Linked DNA regions of Homo sapiens: regions 1, 2, 3, 5 and 6 are each linked to region 4. The links are contacts of gene promoters, found by promoter capture Hi-C in blood cells and fetal thymus (Javierre and others, 2016). All regions are on one chromosome and are shown on one strand. Each heading gives the region's core, a stretch centred on a gene start or on the middle of the fragment in contact. The rest is flanking DNA. Distances are from core to core; before and after follow the strand shown.

What was found. Contacts are between HindIII fragments. The CHiCAGO score rates a contact against its expected background, and 5 or more counts as called.
Region 1: a contact is called between a fragment that was not itself captured here and the fragment with the promoter of PARP8 in region 4, in 1 of 17 cell types (non-activated CD4 T cells). The highest score is 6.3, in non-activated CD4 T cells.
Region 2: a fragment that was not itself captured here is called in contact with the fragment with the promoter of PARP8 in region 4 in 5 of 17 cell types (activated CD4 T cells, non-activated CD4 T cells, naive CD4 T cells and 2 more); the score reaches 7.8 in activated CD4 T cells.
Region 3: a contact is called between a fragment that was not itself captured here and the fragment with the promoter of PARP8 in region 4, in 10 of 17 cell types (non-activated CD4 T cells, naive CD4 T cells, activated CD4 T cells and 7 more). The highest score is 10.9, in non-activated CD4 T cells.
Region 5: a fragment that was not itself captured here is called in contact with the fragment with the promoter of PARP8 in region 4 in 6 of 17 cell types (naive CD4 T cells, naive CD8 T cells, total B cells and 3 more); the score reaches 6.2 in naive CD4 T cells.
Region 6: a fragment that was not itself captured here is called in contact with the fragment with the promoter of PARP8 in region 4 in 1 of 17 cell types (total CD4 T cells); the score reaches 6.6 in total CD4 T cells.

What each region holds. Positions count from the first base shown.
Region 1 is chr5:50,382,049-50,385,773 of GRCh38, forward strand. No RefSeq gene overlaps it. Among named protein-coding and RNA genes, the nearest start is that of EMB, 57 kb to the right of the region's middle. The HindIII fragment of the contact is 3,140 bases long and covers 636-3,725 here.
Region 2 is chr5:50,315,633-50,319,739 of GRCh38, forward strand. No RefSeq gene overlaps it. Among named protein-coding and RNA genes, the nearest start is that of EMB, 120 kb to the right of the region's middle. The HindIII fragment of the contact is 1,169 bases long and covers 1,051-2,219 here.
Region 3 is chr5:50,354,398-50,358,286 of GRCh38, forward strand. No RefSeq gene overlaps it. Among named protein-coding and RNA genes, the nearest start is that of EMB, 85 kb to the right of the region's middle. The HindIII fragment of the contact is 709 bases long and covers 1,965-2,673 here.
Region 4 is chr5:50,664,860-50,668,518 of GRCh38, forward strand. PARP8 (poly(ADP-ribose) polymerase family member 8) reads left to right here and starts at 1,778. Exons shown (of 26, transcript NM_024615.4): 1 at 1,778-2,327; 2 at 3,212-3,266. The coding sequence starts at 2,237. RefSeq lists silencers at 1,621-1,770, 1,821-1,880, 2,573-2,902 and enhancers at 2,053-2,965, 2,401-3,600. The HindIII fragment of the contact is 4,109 bases long and covers 55-3,659 here.
Region 5 is chr5:50,338,113-50,341,821 of GRCh38, forward strand. No RefSeq gene overlaps it. Among named protein-coding and RNA genes, the nearest start is that of EMB, 100 kb to the right of the region's middle. The HindIII fragment of the contact is 1,282 bases long and covers 803-2,084 here.
Region 6 is chr5:50,401,605-50,405,567 of GRCh38, forward strand. It overlaps EMB (embigin), which reads right to left. Exons shown (of 9, transcript NM_198449.3): 6 at 1,574-1,850; 7 at 682-715. Among named protein-coding and RNA genes, the nearest start is that of EMB, 38 kb to the right of the region's middle. The HindIII fragment of the contact is 9,112 bases long and covers 1-3,963 here.

The DNA.
Region 1 (3,725 bases), core at 956-3,455, 280 kb before region 4:
CTACAGGCCAAATTTACCTCAGAGATCTGTAATAAACATTCCTCTCACTAGTGGCAGAATCTGCATTCTTCTCAAGTAAACACGGAATATTCTACAGGATATGTCACATATTAGGTCACAAAACAAGTTTTAACAAACTTAAGATTGAAATGAAACCAGGTATCTTTTCTGAGCACCATGAAATTAAACTACATACTATAAATGGTAATAAAATAAATGGGACACACACAAAAAATGAAGTTACCCAATGCTCATGAGTTGAAAGAATCAATAGTGTTAACTTGTCCATACTACCCAAAGTGTTCAACACATTCAATGCAATCCCCATCAAAATTCCAGCTGAATTAATTATATTTCTTTACTGAAGTTAAAACAGAAATATAGATCAATGGAACAGAATAGAGAGCCCAGAAATAAAATCATGCATATACAACCAACCGATCTTCAAAAAGGGTGCCAAGAATACACAATGGGGTAAAACAGTCTCTTCCACAAATAGTGTTAGGAAAACCAGATACTCACATGCGGAAGAATAAATTGGACTCTCATCTCACACCATATATAAAAATCACCTCAAAATAAAGGCTTAAATGTAAGACCCCAAACTGTAAAACTCTTAGTACACATAGGGGGAAAGCTTCTGGATGTTGGTCTTGACAATGATTTCCTGTATAAGACAAAAGCCCAGGTAATAACAACAAAAATGAACAAGTGAAACTCCTTTAGACTAAATAGCTTCTGTATAGCAAAAGAACCAATCAACAGAGTGAAAAGGCAGCCTATAGAATGGGTTAAAATATTTGCAAACCACATATCCAGTAATGGATTAATCTCCAAATATATAAGGAACTTCTACAACTCATTATCAGAAAATAATTTTAATGAGCAAAGGATTTGAATAGACATTTCTCCAAAGATGACATACAAATGGCCAAAAAATATATAAAAAAGCATTCAAACTGGGCTCAGTGGCTTACACCTATAATCCAACACTTTGGAAATCTGAGGTGAGAGGATCACTTGAGCCCAGGAGTTCGAGACCAGTCTGGGCAACATAGTGAGACCCTATCTCTACAAAACATTTAACAATTAGCCAAGCATGGTGGTACACGCCTGTAGTCCCAGTTACTCAGGAAGCTGAGGCAGGAGGATCACTCGAGTCCAGGAGATTGAGGTTGCAGCAAGCTGTGTTTGCACCACTATACTCCAGCTGGGTGGCACAGTGAGACCCTGTCTCAAAAAAAAAAAAAAAAAAAAAAAAAAAATTCAACATCATTAGTCATCAGGGAAATGTCAATCACCTCACACCTTTAGGATGACTCTTAAAAAACAAGTGCTGTTGAGGATGTGGAAAACTTGGCACTCTTATACACTGTTGATGGGAATAGTTGATGCAGCCACTATGGAAAGCAATATGGAGGTTCCTCACAAAAGTAAAAATAGAATAACTATATGATCCAGCAACCCCACTTCTGGGTATATATCCAATAGAATTGAAATCAGGAACTCAAAGGAATTTCTGCATTCTTACGTTCACTGCAGCATTATTAGCAACACCCAAGATTTCAAAACAATCTAAATGTCCCTCAGTAGATGAATGGATAAAGAAAATGTGATATATACATACAGTGAAATATTATTTAGCTCTTAAAAAAATTCTACCATATGTAAGAACATGGATAAACCTGAAGGATATTGTGCTAAGTGAGATAGCCAGAACAAATGCTGTATGATGCCACTTATCTGAGCTATCTAACGTTAAGTCAATCTCATAGAAGTAAAATGGTGGTCACTAGGAGCTGGGGGAAGGGTAAATGGGAAGTTGTTGACCAAAGTTTCACTTATGCAAGACAAATAAGATATAAAGACAAATAAGGTGAGAATCTGTCTCTACAAAATATTGTAAAAATTAGCCAGATGTGGTGGCATGCAACTGTGGTCCAAACTACTCAAGAGGCTGAAGTGGGAGGATTGCTTGAGCTGGGGAGATTGAGCCTGCAGTGAGTAGTGTTCACTCCACTGCACTCCAGCCTGGGCAACAGAGCAAGACCCTGTCTCAAAAAAAAAAAAAAAAAAAAAAAAAAAAAAAAAAAAAGAGAGATCTGGTGTACAACAGCGTGCCTATACTTGACAATACTGTATTGTGCACTTAAAAATTTGTTAAGAAAGTAAATCTCAAGTTCAGTGTTTCTACCACAATAAAAAAAAACTAAAAATTAAAAAGAAACTTTGGTTTCTCTTTAGATAAACATACTTATGTTTATGTTTTAAATTACCATATTTTATATTTAGGCTAAAGGTTTTTGTTTACCCCAATTCAGGAGACTTCAGAACGTAAAGCAGAATTAGAGTATCATTTGATAATTGTTTTCAGAATCTCAAAAGTTTTAGAAGCATAACATTTTTTCACTGCACAATTTTAATGCTTTCAGCACTACCTGCATCAGCAAAGCACACAGGCTGGCTCATGGTACTATCAGACAGGTGTCCATCTCACTCATAAACACGTGCTGCTGAATGTTATCTCTAGCCACAAACTGTCTCCTGCCATTGCAAATCATTGTGAACCTTGATTAAACACTCTTATCTCCTGCACCACATTTTAGCTACTATAATGGTTCCAGAACCCCTATTCACAGAAATAAATATGAGTAAATGTAGTTATTATAGGGAGGTGACATGAATGTGAATATTTACTCTGGGGTTTTGTGTGTACAGATATATTTTAGTAAGTGTGAAAGGTTTTGATTCAAACTTGAAAATGTACTTATTTCCAAAATAAAATAATCTTTTTTTTTCCCACTATAAAGCAGTTATTTTAGCTATGGCTAGATACAATGAGAGATTTAATATATACAATTTCTTTCTCTTATGTAGCTACAGTAACACAAAACAAAGATTATTCTCAAATGATCTTTATCAAGTTTATACATAAATATTGTCAATCATTCAATGATGAAAGGACATTTTAAAACCTGCATTGTCATTTAAATAGATATAAGAAAGACTTTTTTTTTTTTTTCTTGCAAGGACTATCTGGTAAGACATCTGAGAACATGGGCTTGTAACTGACTCTGTACTTTGCTTTTATGCCAATAGTTTCAGTTGATAGTTTAGGTTGATTTTCTACCTAAACCAATAATAAAGAAGTAAAAAAAATCCATATTCTTTTCTAATATTAACCATTTAATGCTTAGACTAATGAATTGATTCAAACATTTTAAAATATTTTGTTTTGAAAAAATTACAGATTCATAGAAAGTTGCAAAGATATTACAGAGAGCTCTCATTTTCACCTAATTCAGTTTCTCCCCATGCTTATATCTTAAGTAATTATAGTACAATATCAAAAGAAGGAAATTGACATTTGTTATAATGTATATGTATTAGTTCTATGTCTTTTATCACATATGTAGATTCACACAACCACCAAGATACAAAACTAAACCATTCCCACAAAGAACTCCCTATTATTACCTCTTTATAGTCACATCTACTCCCACTTCTCTGCCCCCGCAGCATTCCTAACCCATGGTAACCACTAATTTGTTTTCCATCTCAGTAATTTTGTCCTTTCAAGGACATCATATAATGGACTCACATCTTTTGACATGGGCTTTTCACTTAGCATAATGTCCTTCAAATCCATCCAAATTGTTGCATGTATCAACAATTCATTCTTCTTTATTACAGAGCAATATTCCAAGATATGGATGTACCACAGT
Region 2 (4,107 bases), core at 385-2,884, 350 kb before region 4:
GCAAAATGCTCATTAAACATTGACCCCCCTTTTTTTTTTTTTTTTTTTGAGATGGAGTCTCACTCCATCACCCAGGCTGGAGTGCAGTGGTGCGATTTCAGCTCACTACAACCTCCACCTCCCAGGTTCAAGCGATTCTCCTGCCTCAGCCTCCCAAGTAGCTGGGATTACAGGTGCTCGCGACCATGCCCAGCTAATTTTTTGTATTTTTAGTACAGACGGGGTTTCACCATGTTAGCCAGCATGGTCTCAATCTCCTGACCTCATGATCCACATGCCTTGGCCTCCCAAAGTGCTGGGATTACAAGCATTAGCCACCACGCCCGACCAATGACTATTATTATTTCAACCATTAAAGAATATCCTACTTTTAGAATTGCAAAATGTTAAAACTGGAAGAACCCTTCACACTTACTCAAAAATTTTTAAATGCATGGAGTAGTTTATTCTTTCTAGGTGTGGTAAACAATAAGATACTGTTATCCAAATGTCACATTCTCTCAGCGTTGTTGCTTTCCTGGAAAGGAGGTGTTATTGAGAAACTTGTGATTTTACTATAGTTAGAAAAAAACCCACTATATTTAGAATATTTTTTTCTAGATCACGGTAACTTCAGGAACTGGGAACCTTCTGGGTCTCCAACTGGGGATTTTTTTCATTGTTGATGCTCAGTGAAAGAGGGGAGTTTGAATGAGGAACAGACAAGGCAATACAGGCAAGACTCTCAAATTCTTTGTAGCTTTGATGCCTCCCTCTCTGACAAGGAATGTCCCTTCCTAGCGTGACACTATCTGTGGCTGGCTTTCTCCCCAGAAGGCTGTATGCTTAAGTTGTAATTCATGCTCTTCAACAACTTTAGGGCCCAAAAAAGCACTTGCTGTGTCAGACTTCATGCAGAGACTTGAGCCAGCATCCTGACAGGCATGGTTAGTTCCTCTTGTCCAAGCTCAATTTTTATTTTAAAATGTTTGTACATTTTGATTTGCCAAGTGGTAAGAGAAAAAAAATGTGATATTTGAGAAATAGGACATTCAAATTGTTGGTGCTAAAAGCTTCTTTATGAAATACATAGGATCCAAACAATTATATTTGAATAGAGTCCTGTACTAATGAAGCTAAGGTTACAAGTTTAGTTCCCTCGTGGACCAATTAGCTTCTTTTTTTCCTCATCCAGAAGTTGTAGGTAGTTATTCATTCAATCATTTATTAAGTGCTTAGGACCGGCCAGGCCTGGACCCACAATGTAAGGAAAAATCAGTGCTTAGATAGGGTGAGTCTTTGCCCTCAAAGGACCTGTTTTATTGAGTGTGACCCTGATTCCATCTGGCCAAACTGTAAACATGAGAAAAATCAACAGAATGGAAGGAAAAACTAATTTACATTCCCACCAGCAGCGTGTAAGTGTTCTCTTTTCTCCACAACCTCTCCAGCATCTGTTATTTTTTACCTTTTAATAAAAGTAAAAACTGGTGTGAGATGATATCTTATTGTGACTGGTGTGAGATGGTATCTCATTGCAGTTTTGATTTGCATTTCTCTAATGATTAGTGACACTGGGAATTATTTCATATGCTCGTCGGCCAGATGTATGTCTTCTGTCAAAAAGTGTCTGTTCATATCCTTTGCCCACTTTTTAATGGGGTTGTTTTTGGCCTCTTAATTTGTTTAAGTTCCTTATAGATTCTGGCTGTGCTATTCAAAGTAGCAAAGACATGGAATCAACCTAAATGCCTATGAATGGTAGACTGGTTAAAGAAAATATAGTACATATATCCCATGAACACACAGCCATAGAAATATTATTATTATGTCCTTTGCAGCAACATGGCTGGAAGCCATTATCCTAAGAGAACTAACACAGGATCAGAAAGCTAAATAACACGTCTCACTTATAAGTGGAAACTAAACATTGAGAACACGTGGACACAAAGAAGGAATAACAGACACCAGGGCCTACTTGAGCATGGATCATGGGAGGAGGAAGACGATAAAAAAAACTGCCTATCAGATACAATATTTATTATCTGGGTGATAAAATAATCTATACACCAAACCCCCGTGACATACAATTTACCTATATAACCAACCTGCACATGTAACCCAGAATCTAAAACAAAAATTAAAAAAAAGAATGGAAGAAATAGTAGAGAAAGGAATACAAATGTATTATTATTACTGGAAAGTAACCTATGGAGGAATCATTTGGGTATATAAATGAAAGCTTACTTCTCCTTCTAACAAATACTTCACAAGCTGATATCCAATTCACAATAGAAGATAAGAATATGAAGCATGATGGTTACATTACAGAAAGGAAATACAAAGAAGGAGAAAAGCCAAAATTGGGCTCAAGATAACAGATCTTGGAGAAATGAACATAGTCAAGTAGCTACACAACTTGTTCATATGAGGGAAGCCTCTAAACATTTCAGAAATGGGCTCTTGAGTAGAGTAAAACAAGAGAGGGGACAGAATCAGAAAATTACAGATACATACTAATGAAGAGAAGATTCTTTGAATACACACAGCAATGTCAAACCATTAATCTTTGAGTCTCAAAACAATTATTATGAGTCCACTTAAAGACCATGTCATAGGAAAGAGATTTCTATCCATCGTTTGGCAGATCACACTGTATTCAGTGGGGAGTTTTAAAATATAGAATTATATAAAATATTTTTAGGGACAGTTAAAGTGACACAAATCATTCCTTTTTAGTTTATGAATTCAAGATAATTCAGATGTTCTCCATTGATAATGTGTTATACAAAAATATTTTATGTTTATTCAGCAGTTTAAGAAAAGTTTGTGAAAATGGGACTATGGTGAAATCCATAAGGTAGCTTCTCTAGAGAAAGAACATGTGTTTTGCATGTTTTGAGAATATTAGTTCTTTCTCCAAAAAATAAGTGTTATTTCTGCCATCAAACACCCAACAAGTCCCACTTTTCAAAAAAAGAAAGAAAAGAAAGAACAACTTTGTGTGGAACTAGGATATATGGTCATTTAGCCTTGATAGACTGTTGTAAGAGTTTGGTCATGGGATATCAGAAAAATGGGCTATATCAAAATCTTCATGGAATCTGCCCTCCATGGCTCACAATATACAGGCCTGGCCTGTTGTCACACACCCTGATTTGTTCTCACTGGTGACTTCACACTTGAGCTCCTTTTCATGTCAGATGTAGAGACTCAAGGGTCCATTTGGTCTACTCAGCTTCATGAGAACTTTGAAATATTGGCTTGACAAGTTTTGTTAACCTTCATGAAACAAATATGTCCCTTCCCTTCTCTTCTGTTTTGCTTTCTTCTTTCAGTATTGGCTGGCTTCCAATTCTCCATACATATATTTTTATTTTCTTTTGTTTTGCTTTGCTTTGCTTTTTATTACTGACAATTATCAAAACTTTCTTTTTATGTAAAACTCTTTGCTATCAGAAGCTTTTGGACAAAATACACTGTAACAAAAAAACAAACTATTATTGGTTTATAATTTTAGGTAAATTTTAAATACTCGAAATACATTTTAAGTCATTTAGAAATTTTTTGTTTATCTTCAAGTTAGTTCAAGTCCATGATTAAAATTCCAAAAGGAAAAATTTAATCTTCATTGAAAGCAACAAAGCTTATAACGAAAAAACAGCTCTTTTGAAAGAAAATGGAAAATGCTTTCAAATATTTTCTAAAAATTTTAATATAAAGTTTGTACAAATTACATGCATTTACAAGAGGCTAAAAAACCTATGTCTAGACAACTGATGGTTGCTTGAATAGACTTTAGTGTTCTGAACTGAAAATATTCCATTAGAAGCCTTTCTATATGATTTCAAAATTATGATACTTTTTAAATTACATTTTTGATAAGTGGCCAGCTTTTTTCAGAGCTTTATTTATAAGATAAACATATTCTAAAAGCCTTTGAGTCAGTAATGGCAGCAATTACAACACTTTTTGTCAGAATTTTTCTTTTAGGGAATATGCAAATTACCTTTTATTGGACAAACATTTCTGGAAGGTATGCAGAATAGACAGTACTTTTATCAATGGTTTCCCCTATAAAAGAAATTGATCTTGTTAATTCCAAAATCAGGACCCTTCATACACCTC
Region 3 (3,889 bases), core at 1,069-3,568, 310 kb before region 4:
TATATGAATAAATTTTTGTCTGTTGAGCTCAAATCCTGCAACCCGAATGACCTCAATGTACTTGCTAGATCTAAGAATCTCTTTTTGTAGATTCTTGAAACTATTTACATAAACAATTATAAGTGGGTATAATTTTAGTTTTCCTTTTCACCTATAAACATTAAATTCCTTTTCTTACCATATTGCACTGGCTGGGGTGTCTCCATTATTATTATTTTAGTTGTGCATCTCCTTTCACCAATGTATTAATTATGTCTTTTTTTATTCCATATTTTTGATATCTTAGGGCCTTGCTGAACCTGGAGGAACTGCCCCTCTCAGGGCTAATTCCTAGACAAGGCATAGAACTCACCTCTGAACACACCTGTCATGTGCAACCAACCAACCTTCATACCCCCAAACCACCTCCTTCATTGGGCTCTCTCACACTTTAGGCAAGTATCCACCTGCCCTTATCACCTCAGGGCCAGGTACCAAACAACTTGGGGCAGTCCCTATGTCCCAGGGCCCACTAGAATTACTCAAATTAGCCCATCCTAAACCTGCTTACCTTGTCTTGCCTGTCCCTTTCTACAGAAACCACAATAAACTCTCTTGCCCACATTTTCCCACTCCACCTGCATCCTGACCATTCTGGTGCTTCCCCATGTGGCCTCCCCATGGCAAGGCATGGCCCCTCCTCCTGGGATCTGTGTATATAACAAACTGTCTTTCCAATGGCAGTCCTCTCTTGATCTCTTCGCCTTGCCATACCTAAATAACAATAAAACTTTTATTTTAAAACAACAAAAGAGTTTATCAATAGAAGATTTTTATTACTGTTGGAAATACCCTTTTGATTTTTATATCTTGTAACTAGTTTCTAGTTTTATTGCATTGTTAGAAAATGTTATTAGTCTATTCTCTTTTGTCAGGGCATAGAGATCAATATCTAACTATAAGATGTATCTAGTTGATTTTGTTGTTCAGGTCTATATACTTACTTGTCATCTTAAACTAAGAGAGATGTATAAAAGTCTCTAATATTCAGTATGTTTCTACCAATGTCTTCTTACATTGCCTGTAGTGCTTGCTTCATAAGGGTAGTTATTTGGTGCATTGGTGATCATAATTATTATATTTTTTATTTTGAAATGAAATGTGCCTTTCTTTGTCCTATATAATAACTTTTGACTTGAATTCTACTTGTCTGATATCAGAATTTCAATCTACACTTTCTTATTATTTCCATTTGCCTGTAATTCCTTTGTCCTTCTCTTTGTTTTGAACCTTTCCAAATCCTTTTGTTTAGGTTTGTTCTTATATGCATTAAACAGTTGAATTTTGCTTTGAGTTAAACTGAGAATCTCTTCCTTTCAATAAGTAGGTTAAGCCCATACACATTTATTAAGATGATTGATATGCTTAGTCTCTACCCTGCCCAATTATTTAAGTTATAATTACAATATCTGTTCTATTTGATTTCTCTATGTAATATGTTCTCTTTATTTGTTTATTTTAAAACTGAAATAACATTTTATTTTCTGTCCTAATGGCTATCTTTACACTTTTAAATTGCCCCTTTGTTCTCATTTTCTTATCTAACCTTTTACTGGCTGGTCAGTTTGTGATGCTATACTTTGACTATACCTATTGCCTACGCAAAAATTAATCAATTTATTCTACTTGCCTTTTTGCCACTCCCTTGTCCCCTTTTTAGCCGTATTATTTCTTCTGTCCAAAGGTATATTACTATATTATATTTTATTACTCATCTCCACCCTTGTTTTAGTTTCAGATCATCAATTTAAAATACTAAATACATATCAGCAGGGTTTTTTTGCTGAAATTTCGTCTGTTACCCTTTGATTGGATAAAGCTCATCTTCTCTTAGAATGCTCAAGAAATAAACCTCAATATCTTGAATGTTTTAAATTTTTTATTTATAGCCTTCACACTTGAAGGATAGCTTACCTAGGTAAAAAAGCTTTGTTCAGACATTCTTTCCTTGAGTGTCCTGAAAATGGTGTCCTGAAAATGTTACTCATTGTTGTCTTTATTTATATGCTGTTTTGAGAAGGCTGATAGTCTAATTTTCATGAAATGTATTTATTTGTTTGCTTGTTTATTTAGGCTGAGGCAGGGGGCCTTGGTCATATTTTATTTTTAAAGTTTAATTGTTTTATAAAAATATGTCTATGGTTTGATTTTTCTGATTCGATCTCCACAGGTAATTGGGTAGCTCTGCTGATTAATGTCATTTTATTTCTGGAAATTGTTCCTGTCTTATATATATAAATACTAGTTTTGTTTCCGTGTTTTGTTTTTCTTCTTCAATAACTTCAAATTATGCTTATGTGGATCTTCTTTGCTTGCATATTTCAACCACTGTTTCTCTGGCCCAATTTACTTCTTTCTTATCTCAATTTTTATTCTCTTTGATGTTTTCCTACTTTTGTTTCTCGGCATCTTGTAATTTAGTCTTATTATTATAAAATTTTCTCTTTATCTTCTATATCTTTCCTAAGATCAATCAAATACCATTTTATTTCTTGATGGTTTGGGTACATTTCTGTCCTTTCTAAAATTACTAACCTAAGATTATTGGTTTTTTTAATATTAGCAAATGTTTGAGAATATGTAATGTATTTCACAATACTGGTAACATTTCTGCTGTGTGTGGTGGGAGGGAGAAGCTTTCATTAGCTAAGATAGTTTGATTCTTGTTTTTAGTTTTCTCGGATAGTGTCTTTCTGGAAGTCAAAATTTATTTTGCCATGAATTTCATGGACAGGACTCTTGACTTAGGGTGATTTAAAGCATTCTTAAAGAAGGCCTACCCCACATTTTGTCATGGTGGGAAAGTGCAATTTCTTTAATTGATGGCACTTAGAGGACAGGTTTTATGTTTTGTGCTCTGTTATTTTATTTATTTATTTGAGACAGGGTCTTGCTCTATAGCACAGGCTGGAGGGCAGTGGTACAATTGTAGCTCACTATAGCCTTGACCCCTGGGCTCAAGCAGTCCTACTAACTCAGCCTCCCGAGAAGCTGGGACTACAAGCACCACCACACCTGGCTAACTTAAAAAAAAAAAAAAAAAAAACTTGTAGAGACAGAGTCTAGCTATGTTGTCCAGGCAGGTTTTGCTCTGTGATTTTTGACTTTTCTTTTGTCTTTCAGTACTTTAAGTCCCCACTTGCTCTGTTTGTCTCTTCACTGCACAATTTTCAAAGTCTGACTCTCTCTTCTTTCTTCCCTTATTCTTCCCAGAAGAAATAGCTTTCCAAGACTGTATCCTTTTTAGATCCCTTATCTGTAGCCAATATACTGATATACAAGGCTCTTTTTCAGTATTTTGGCACTTAACATGGGCTTTCTTTTTTCTAGTGGTAATGTTAGCTCAGTCATAAGCCCTCCTTTTGCTTCTCCTATCTTCCACTTGGTTTTTCAAGATGCCTACCCCTTACTCTCTGCAAAGGTCAGTGGAAGCTCAGCAAACAACTCTACGAAAGTGATGTTTATAGTTCTACTTACAGGTAATTTGAAGCAGTGGTGTTCCCTGTTTTTTACTTGAGATTTGTGGGTTTCTCTGTTGTTTTTCATATTGAATTGTATTGTTTTGAAGAGTATGTTGGGAGATTTTAATTGAGATGACCACCATTACTTTGGCTATTCCAATTCCATCAGTTTACTTGATATGGTTTGGATGTGTCCCCACCCAAATCTCATCTTGAATTGTAGTTCCCATAATTCCCAGGTGTCATGGGAGGGACCAGGTGGGAGGTGATTGAATCATGGGGGTGGTTACCTTCATGCTGTTTTCATGATACTGGCAATTTCTCACATGATCTGATGGTTTTATAAGGGGCTTTTCTCCCTTTTGCTTGGCACTTCTCCTTGCTGCTGC
Region 4 (3,659 bases), core at 528-3,027:
GGGCATGAACAGGGTGAGGTTAGCTTTGTTTAACCAAAACAGGGCAGCCCATGAAGCTTAAAAAAAAATCAAATATAGGACAAGTCACAAGAAGGCCTATTTTAAGGAGTGAGTAGTAAACTAAGAGCTCATCCAGACAAAAAAATATTTGGTAGCTTTAAAACTATTTCACATTTATTTGTAGTAAGGGTTCTACTTGGAAGATGCAAGCCTTGTGGCTAGATAACTATAAAATAAATTCTTGTGAGTTAATAGACTTTCAGCCTTTCAGAGAAATTAAAGCACATAATGGAAGAAGAAATACTCATGATTCTCAGTGGTGATGTGGAAGAGAAGAGAGCATTTTTGGCAGCCAAAGGGCCTACACAAAGCAACATATCCAGGAAGGACAAAGGGCTTGAACCTGTCCTACCCTAAACAGGAAGCATTTCAGGAGAGGACTGAGCAGGAGATATAGACTGTTGTGACTGTGGCTTTACTACATCAAAGGCTGCAGTGGATCTCAATAATGCAGAATGTTTCCTTTTGTAACTCATAGTGAATATGACTGGACAAGGAAATTATTTTGTAATTTGTTTCCTGAAAGATAAAGGAGTTAGAACATAGGATCTTTCATTGATTCTACAGAATCTTAAGACTCCTTCAGGGATGGCAGTCATTCCTACCGTGCTGAACATCATGTTGTCACGGTCAGAATCAGAACTAAATTGATTAAGGGTCTGAAACAGTTTGGCAACTCTTGGGCACTTATGCTGATAAGAAAAGTGATGAGACAGGGTAATGAAAAGAGGCTGCAAGAAATGACCATTCGTGCATTCAGCCAACATTTAGGCCACCCTCCTGTATTCCAGGCACTGTACATGGCACTGAGTATGCAAAGCAAAAGGAGTCATGGTCTACTGGCGGGAGCCTTCTCAGTGGAGAAAAGATCAACAAGAAAAGTGCCTGCTGGAGACCTCTCCTAGGGCATAAACCAATATAGAGGTGGGGCAGCTACGTCAGCCTGGGGTGTCCTTAGGCAGAACAGAAAGTGAGAATCAGAGCAGTATCTCATTTCTGAACACCTGGATTGTAGCTTTCCCTTGACTGTCAAAGGAGGTGGTTTTAAAAATCAAGCCAAACAGGTTTCCATCTTTTAGGAAGACCCTGGAACGTGCCAGTTGATTCTGACCATTTCTCATGAACAGAAACACCTAGGAAGGGAGAACTGGTGAGTTTCAAGAGGAGGAAGTCCCTCAAAAGGGGCTGTGTTTCGTAAACGGCGCCCCAAAAGGGCTGAACTACTTCGATCTGGAGGAAAAAGACTCAGGCACTGAGGGAAGGGGAGGGTGCACGTCTGGAGTAATTTTAAGGCCTTTTCCGTGTTATGTGATGTGGCAATAAGGAAAGATTTGTTCGTTTTATTATTTTTTTAATTTTTAAAGATTTTCTTTTCCCCCCTTTTCCCCCTCCCAGCCACTCCGGTTTGGGTTTGCCACAAGACTATAATTCCTTTAGAAAGTGGAGTCGAATTCATAAAAGTGATGGGGGGAGGGGCGCGGAGAGGGAAGGCTGGGAGCCCCAGGGAGTCTTCACGACCGCTCAGCTCCCGGCGCGAGTGGAGGTCGGTGTGGGGAGAAGCGGCTCCCGCCCGGGATGGCTAATACTCTGCGAGCCCCGGCAGCCCGCGGCCGGCGGGGTGACTAGGCGGCGGGCGCGGAGGGTCTGCGGCGGGCGGGCGGCGCTGCAGCAGCCTGGGCACGGCTGCCGCCGCCCGCGGGCGCGAGTGTGCGCGGGTGTGGAAGGCCGGCGTGCGAGCCGTGAGGGGTGTGCGCGCGTGAGCCGGAGCGGGGCTCGCCCCTCGCCGGCGCCCGCCGCCCAGCCGGTGATTGCTCTCTGGCTGTCCCCGGCACCTCGGCCCCCACGGCCGTTGGTCCGGGCGGGTGAGGGAGAAAGTGAGACTTGGTGTCATCACCATCCATTGTCAGAAGGGGAGGAAATTGGAATCCAGCAGCGGCGAGCAGCAGCTGGGCGGTCACATCTGGGAATGCAAAGCCGACCTCCCCCTCCTCCTCCTCCTCCCCCTCCTCCTCCTCCTCTTCTCTCACCCAGGATCACTTCCGAAACCACTTCGCCTTCAGCCCCTGCCTCGGCCAGAGGTTTCATTTTTAACTGAATATTTACGAAAGCTGGAAGCGTGCGAGGGGGGTGGGGTGGGGTGGAAATAGCGGCTGCTTCTTTTCCAGGGATTTATTTAATGGGGATGTGTTCAAGGCAAGAGCGAATTCAGAAGGATATCGACGTCGTGATCCAGAAGTCCAGAGCTGAGAAGGACTGCCTGTTTGCAGGTGAGTTCTTGCTTTTCCAGAACCTCGGACCCAGCGCCCCCTTCCCAGTTTTCTGACCGCGACGTCTGTGGCTGGGGGTGGGGTGGAGGGTTGCACGTCCCCATTCTGGGGTTCATTTGGCAACAGCTGCTGCAACGAGCGCGGGAGCCAAAAGGGGGAGGGGGCGCCAGCCTCTCCCCTTCCCCTCCCCCACCGCCAAGTCTGAGGCAGCCACCAGCTTTGAGGGCAGAGCCCGCGTGGCCGGAGCGGGGGTCTAGGCGAAGGGGCAGTGCGTGGTATTTCCAGCCCCGCGTAGTGCCCGAAGCCTCCAAGCACGCTTCCTGGGTTCCAGCAGCGGCGGCAGAGCGGGGTTGGTTTGCGCAATGGGCTGAGCGGCGGCGGCCGGGAATGGAGCCTGCTGCGCTGCGCTGCGCTTGTAAGCTGCGCCCGGCGCCGAGGACCCCCGGGGGGCAGCGCTCGGCCCATCTCCGGCCCCTTCGGCTCCCTCTAGTCCCCTCCGACTGGCAAAGAGAAGGGATTCCTCGGATTCCCAAGGCACCCAGCGCCCCTGCCTGGGGGTCGCCTTTCGTCCATTTTGCTCCCCCGGGATTTTGCTTTCGCTACCGCGAGCCCGGCTGAGGCTGCTTCCGGCCTCCCCTATCGGGAAATTCCCGCTGTTGCCATGGCACCCGGCACTTGTTGCGGGGGGCGGCCTCCCGCTGCACCCAGTCGGGGGCGCGCCGCATCCCCTCGGACGCGGCGCAGAGGGACCTCGCCGCCCTCTAGCCCTTGCCTTCTGCCCGGCCAGGCCTCCCCTGACACCACCGAATGTGGGGCTCAAGTCCTGATCGGGGTTAAAACAAATCCACTCCAGGGGTAGCTTTTGACGGGACTTTCTGTTTCAGATTTCAGATACTCTGACTCCACCTTTACTTTTACCTACGTTGGCGGCCCCAGAAGGTATTTATGTGTATAGAGTTGCTTCATTTCCTGTTCACACTCTTGTGTTTCCTTTGTTCTTAGCGTGTTCCGTGTTCGGGTATTTTGGTTGCTTGTTTGTTTGATTATTGTGGCTTTTCTTTACCTGCTACCCAAGCCTGACGTCCCTCGGTTTTAAATAGCAGGAGGAGGGGAATCAATGTTTGATTCAGGTGTTTCGAGGACCACGCCACAGGCAATGAGCAGAACTCTTCATGTTGAAACTGTTCTGCTACAGTACTAGATTGCTCTCAGGCGATTTGGGGTTGATACAGGCACGCCGGTGCAAAACTGGAATACTGGATATGAAGTGAAATGTATAAAAGACATAAAATGTCACAAAATAGTTTGATCAGAAGTGTTGATTTTCCTGGT
Region 5 (3,709 bases), core at 194-2,693, 330 kb before region 4:
GTTTGTGCTGCTATAACAAAATATCTGAGAAGAGGTAATTTATAAAAAATAGAAATTTGTTTCTCACAGTTCTGGATACTTGGAAGTCCAAGATCAAGGCATTGGCAGGATTGGTGCCTGGTAAGAGCTGCTCTCTGCTTCTGAGCTGACACCTTGTTGCTGCATCCTCTGGAGGTGACAAATGTGTCCTCACTTGGGGGAAGGGACAAAGGTCGCAACCCAATTTCTTCAAGTTCTTTTATAAGGACTTTAATCCCATCCTGGAGGGCTGCACACTCCTGACCTAATCACCTCCTAAAGACTCCACGTTGTAACACAATCACATTTGCAATTAAGTTTCGTCCCATGACTTCTGGAGGTCATTCAAACCATAGCACTATATTTTCTCTGTCTTCTTTTCTCCTTTCCTCCATGGATTCTTCATTGTCTCCCTTTTCTTCATCCTCTTCAAATAAGAATTATGAAAAATGAGAGAAAGAGAAAAGGAAAGAGGATGGTGATACAAGAATGTATTCATCAATGCAATGTGTCAGGGGACACAGGGCTGCTATGGACATACCCCACCACTATTATCAAGCTATACACTATATTTTGCTTCTTCAACAATTCCAAAGGGACTGAAGCAAAAGTAAATAAATATAAATAAATAAAATTTACCATTTGATATAACTGCAACATACTATATAGGAATGAGTGATTGTTGTGGAGGAAAGAGTATGGTTTTTATTTCAGATTAAGTGGCAAAGGCTTCTGAACAACCAATGGATCAAAGAAGAAATCAAAAGGAAACATTTTTAAAAAAAGCTTGACATAAACAAGAATGGAAACACAACATACCAAAACTTATGGGATACAGCAAAAATAGGTCTAATGAGGAAGTTTATATCAATAAATGCCTACATTAAGAAAAAAATCTAAAATAGATGACCTAAATTTACACTTCAAGGAAACATAAAAAAACACACTAAGACCAAAGTTGGTAGAAGAAAGGAAATAATAAAGATCAAAGCAGAAATAAATGAAGTAGAGAATAGAAAAATAATAGAAAAAATCAATAAAACCAAGTATTTATTTTTGAAAGGCAAACAAAATTGATAAACCTTTAGCTAGACTAACTAAAAAGAAAAGACAGAAGATTAAAATAAAATTTTCAATGAAAGAAGAGACATCACAAATGATACTAAAGAAATAGAAAGGATCATAAAAGACTACTATGAACAATTATTTGCCAAAAATTGAATAACCTATAAGAAGTGAGAAACTCCTAGACACATATAACCTATTGAGAATGAATCGTGAAGAAATAGGAAATCTGAACAGACCAATAACAATGGTTATGAAAACCCTAAGAACTCTACTAAAAAACTGTTAGAAATAATCAATTGCATCTCTATACATTAGCAACAAAGTATTCAAAAAAAGAATTACTAAAACAATCTAATTCACAATTGCATGAAAAAATTAAAAAGCAATTAAATTCAACCATGGTGATGAAAGATCTGTACACTGAAAATGATATTAAAATATAAATTAAAGAAATTGAAGAAGACACAAATCCAAAGATATCTTGTATTCATGGATTAGAGTAATTAATATTAAAATGTCTACACTACCCAACTGTTCTATAGATTCAATACAATCTCTATTAAAATTTCAGTGACATTTTTCATGGATAGAGAAAAAACAATCCTAAAATTCATATGAATCCAGAAAAGACCTTAGCCAAATCAATCTTAAACAAGGAAAAGAAAGCTGGAGACATTGCATCACCTGATTTCAAAATATACTACAAACCTGCAGGAATCAAAACAGCATGGGACTGGATAAAATCAGACACACAGACCAGTGGAAAAGAATAGAGAGCCCAGAAATAAATCCACTTATTTATTGTCAATTGATCTTCCACGGATCTGTCAAGAGCATACAATGGGGGAAAAACAGTCTCTTCAATAAATGGTGTTGGGAAAACTGTGTATCTACATGCAAAATAATAAAACTGGACCTTTACCTCATACCTATAGAAAACTAACTCAAAATAAAGACTTAAATAACTGTAAAACTACTAGAGGAAAAAATAAGGAAAAAGCTTTTTGACATTGGTTTGGGAAATTATTTTTAAAATGTAACCCCACAAACACAGGCAATAAAAGCAAAAATAGACAAATGAAATTGCATCAATCTAAAAAGTTTCTGCACAGTAAAGGAAACAATTAAGTGAAAAGAAAACCTACAAAACAGGAGAAAATATTTACAAATGATACATCTGATAAGGGGATAATATTCAAAGTATATAATCAATTCAAACAAATCGATAGCAAGAATACAAATAACCCAATTTAAAAATGGATAAAGGCTGTAAATAGACATTCACCAAATAAGACAAAAAAATGGCCGAGAGGTATATTAAAAAGTGCTCAACATCACTAATAATCTAAGAAATGCAAATTAAAATCAATGAAATATCACTTCACACCTGTTGGAATGGCTATTATTAAAAAGATAAAAGAAAGCAGGTGTTGGGGAATGTGTGGGAAAAAGGAATCCTTGTACACTGTTGGTGGGAATGTAAATTGCTACAGTAATTATGGAAAATAGTATGAAGATTCCTCAAAGAATTAAAAATAGAACTACCATGTAATCCAGCAATCTCACTTCTGGGTATATATCCAAATGAAAGGAAATCAGTATGTTGGAGAGATATCTGCACTCCTATCTTCATTGCAGCATTGTTCACAATGAACACACACACACACACACATATATGAATATTACTCGGCCTTATTAAAAAAAGGAAATCCTGTCATCTGTCATTTGGGGCAACATAGATGAACCTGGATAATGTTATACTAAGTGAAATAAGCCAGACATGGAAAGAAAAATACTGATGATCTCACGTATGTGGAATCTTAAAAAGTCAAACTCATAGAAGGAGAGAGTAGAATGGTAGTTTCCAGGGGCTGGGGGATGGTGATAGGGAAAGAGGAGATGGTGGGCACAGAGTACAATTTCAGTTATGCAGGATAAACAAATTGTGGGGATCTAATATATAGCAGAGGGATTATAGTTCACACTACTGTATTATATACTTGAAATTTGCTAAGATAGTAGATGTTAAATCTTCTCACCAGAAAAAAAAAAGGTAACCATAAGGTGATGGATATGTTTTTTAGCTTAATTGTGGTAATCATTTCACAATGTATATGTATATCAAATTATCATGGGGTATGCCTTAAATATATACAAATTTTATTTGCCAATTATAACTTTAATAAACAGGAAAGAAATAAAAAACTAGAGGTAGTCCCACTTCTCAAAATGGGAGAATTATTGTAGAAAGGTGTCTAATTCAGGAAGAAGGGGAAAGAGAACACTGTGGAAACAATCATATAGTAAAAGATAATTGTTTGGGATGACACTATCACTCTTGGATGTAAGGATAATAAATAACAAACTTAGGCTCTGGCTTCATTCATCTGGTTGACTCATTAAGATGCAAACTCCAAATTAGAAAGTCAAACATAGGAACCAAGGTTCTGCATGTCTGTAATGCCTGTGCTCATCCACAATACACAGTGTGCAGAACAAGGTCTCAGAAGACAATGGACACTGGGATCAATGGCCAGAGGACTAGTCTCATCTGACTGGATTGATAACAGACCTAAAATCTGTAGGCTCCAGGAGCTTCTTTTCATTGCTGGTGAAAAGCTCA
Region 6 (3,963 bases), core at 861-3,360, 260 kb before region 4:
CTTTGCCAAACTAAATTACATCCCTGGTGATTTTATTTCCAGACCTCCTCATGCTTAACTCTAAACAAAGGCTGTGTAAGAGAACCTGTGGCACAATTTGTGTTCTCTGAATAATAATAACTAATAGAATTCTAGGCCAGTGATTTTCAACAGACAGAGGATCAAAACCATTTGTAGATGTTTTCAAGAAATAACAGATGCCATAGCCCCAACCCAAGAGGTTCTGATCCAGGAGATTCAGCAAGGTCTGAGCAACTGTATTTTTTTAAAGAGGCTCTTAAGTGATCAAAAATTGCCAGGCTTGAGAACTATTGCTTTAAAAATAATAATATTAAATACTTCCTGATGGTTACTGCACACCTTCTGTGCACCATAACCTATGCTATGCATTTACACATATATAATATTCATTCCATCCAACAACCTCATATGGTGAGTACTATTATTAAATCCATTTTGTAGAGAAGAAAGCTGAAGTACAGAGAAGTGCAGGTAGTAAGTGATGAAGAAGAATTCTCACGCAGGTAGGCAGACTTGGAAAGCCACTTTCCACCACCACGTGGACATATACAGAAAATACTCCTCTGCCTTTTCTCCCCCTAACTGCAAACATTTCATTCAATTTTATGTTTCCCTGTATTTTACCCAAGTGAAAATTAATCTGTAAAAAATAATACTTACAGCTGTTCAATCTGCTCAAATTCTTTCCCCTCATCTGTGTAACAAAAGAAGAATTTGACTGTGAAGTTGGTTTGTCACTTTTATGGAACATATATGCTCAATTAAACCTCCTTCCTAAGTAAGTAAGTACTATGCTGTTTCTCCTGTTTGGAATGAAGGAGAGACATGCTACCTTAAACACCTACACCTCCTTTATCTGCACTACAGACCTTATCTGCATTTCTGATCAAACATAGTTTAGTGGCCTGGTATTTTCAAAAACATGACTGCTTAGTTTGTCATTATTTAAATCATTAAAAATTTAGTATAAAATCAGGAAAGAATACAGGACGTAAGGTCAATTTTCTAGAGGATTACTGCTTTATCAACCTGTAACCCATCAGGCACAGGCCGCAAAAATAGGACATGACAGGATGGTCTCTCTTTAATGAGAACTCTGGAATGGTTAATAAAATATTTTTTTAAATGATAATCTAAGTGAAAGAAAAATTGTTTCTTTTAGACTTTTTATATTAAGCTATCATAGATTTTTCTAATATTCCAGTGCCAGAATACATATCACCTAATTGGTACTTAGGTACCAGTAGCACCAAAAAAAAAAAAAAAAAAAAAAAGAGGGGGGTGGTGGGGGAAGAGAAAGAAAAAAGGCATTTTTAATACTAAGTTTTTTCAGGAATTGAAACAGGAAGACCATGGGTATATGTTTCCAGCTCACTGTCACCATTGTTGTAAACCTAAATACTGCTCCAAATAAGAAAATGAAGATTTTCCCCAAAAATCCTAAAGTCATTGCAATGTATCAAATCATAATCCATATCATAAGTAAATGATACTTATAATTAACTGATAATACTTTCTAAAAAAAACAAAAAACAAAAAAAAGAAATCCCACCTGAGTGCTTCTTTTTCTTTTGTGTGTACTTTTCACAAAGCAGAATGGTGGCCACTAAAAGAATCACCTCAGCCACTATTACAAGAAATGGTTTGAGGGGCACCAAATAGCTCAGCACCACAAGCTCAATGTGTTCTTCACTCTCGCCTAATTGGAATAGTGCACGGCACCAGTAAGATTCCCCATCTTCCTCCAAAAGTTGTGTTATCTTCAGCTTTGTTTCGTTAGCATATGTTCCATTGATCACATATTTATTCATTTGAACACCAACAGGAACCTAATATGAGGAGACATTAAAATCCATTCCTATCATAGCACATAAAAGATACATGACATAGTTTTTCAGTGAAAGCTATAAGATAATGCCAACAATATTGCTTACTAGAGAAAGGCATATTAAAGTTTGTGAGAGGTTATCTATAACAGACTTAAGTCTTATCAGAGTTTGATCTCCCAGGGAGCAAACAAAGAAAAAATATATACATTGCTATAAGGATTTAGCAGTGAATGTTTAAAACTACAAAGAAGCAAATAGGTCATCATGAATAAATATTATAGAAGAATTAAAAACAGAAAAATCCCAATCATCTGAGTCTCACATTCCTATCCTTGCCTAGTGCTTTAAAGTACTTTTTCCTTCACAAGCACAGGCACATATTCAAACAACTACCACCCCGGAAGCTACTATTTCTGATCATTTCTATAAAGGAAAATCGCTCACTCAGACAATGTGATTTCCCCAGGCTAGAAATGAAGATGAAACTCTCAGGCTTTTGGAGCTGATGTAGATAGAATGGAGGGGACCCTCTGTGAGCCTGGGATCCGAAGTGAACTGCACACCTTCTGTCTTTTCATATCTGAATTTCTTTCTCACTCAGATAAGCTGGCTTCTAAGATTTGCTGGGTTTTCCACAGCCTCACAAGGTGCCATATTAAGCTATTTGGGGCTGTTTTATTTAATCTATTTAAATTAAATTTTATTCCCAAGCCATTTGATGCTTTTCCTGCTCCATCACTCAACCGTGCTATTCAATAAATGCTAATCTGCATACAAATATTCTCAGAGCTTATCCAAGGAATAATTATCTGTGAGTATATTATTCGTGCAAAAAAAATTACAGCAACCTGGCACCATGTGCACAACACTGCCTGGAATGTTTGGTACAGATTGGTCAGAGCTAATCAATCAAAGTACCATATTTTTAATAAGTACCCAGCTGATTCTGATGCACATGGTTGGTCTACATTTTGAAAAGGCACTTGTGCTCAAGTTTTGACCTGCATCCTATTCCCCAAACTTTTCTCACATCCTAATAAGACTCATGCTTAGAGTCAAATTAAGAGGATAATGACTAGTATAGCAATGGACAAAAGCACTGGTACGTCTAAAACGACATTTTCAACATCTGATATAATTAGATGAAGGCTAATGTTTTTCACATATTGTTGTACCACATACACATCAATAAATAAAGCTGTGTATTTCAAATACCATAGTTGACATTTGTTTTTACAAAATTACACTTTTTAAAAAAAAATTACATATACACAATGACTGCCTTTCCTCATCATCCATCAGAAGACATAAAGGAGTAGGAATGGCTTCAGTCTGCATCTATGGGATTTGGTTGGAACTATTTCATTGAAAAACTAAACCTGTTAGCACAGAATAAGTCACACTCCCTTCTGAATCATCTGTCATCCTTCAATAGTCTATAATAACACCAATTTTGCCTAAGAAGGAATTTAATATTTCATTGTAACATCTACACTGTCTCACATGTTCCTTCTACAATTATAGCTTGCCTTTAACGGGACTTTAATTGTAATGCTTCTTAGTGCCAGGGCAAAGGAAGGGTGTCTCTTAAAGGACAATGTCCTAAATTTTCCTGCCATTAGAGGCTATTTGGGGAGAAGAAAGGAAACCAGAAATTATTTATAAAATACTCATGTTTTTCTTAATATCAGCTCTTTGAATAGCGATTTCTCTCAGTAAAAAAGGAATTAAAAGTATTTGGCTTCTCTCAGGTAGCTTGAAAAGGCCAATGACACTTTCTGATAGAACCTAAGATGTAAGATTAAGTTACAAAGTTTTCATTATTTTCTCAAATAGTGCCACTATTTTGCATTCTATCACAGATGTTTCAGGAGACAGAAGCCCAAAAAGATGTCTAGCATTTTTTCTAGTTACTTTCATGGAATGATTTTTAAAAAGAATATTTTCTAATGGGGTTATTTCTAAACTAGGCAACTACACACAAAATGTAATTTCTTTTCAAAGAATGTAATTAAATTGTTAAACCTAAAAAACAAACTACCAGCTAATGAAACGTTAAGAGTATCTTCATATGTATAACGTAAACATGCCAAAAACCATCAAATGACAACTC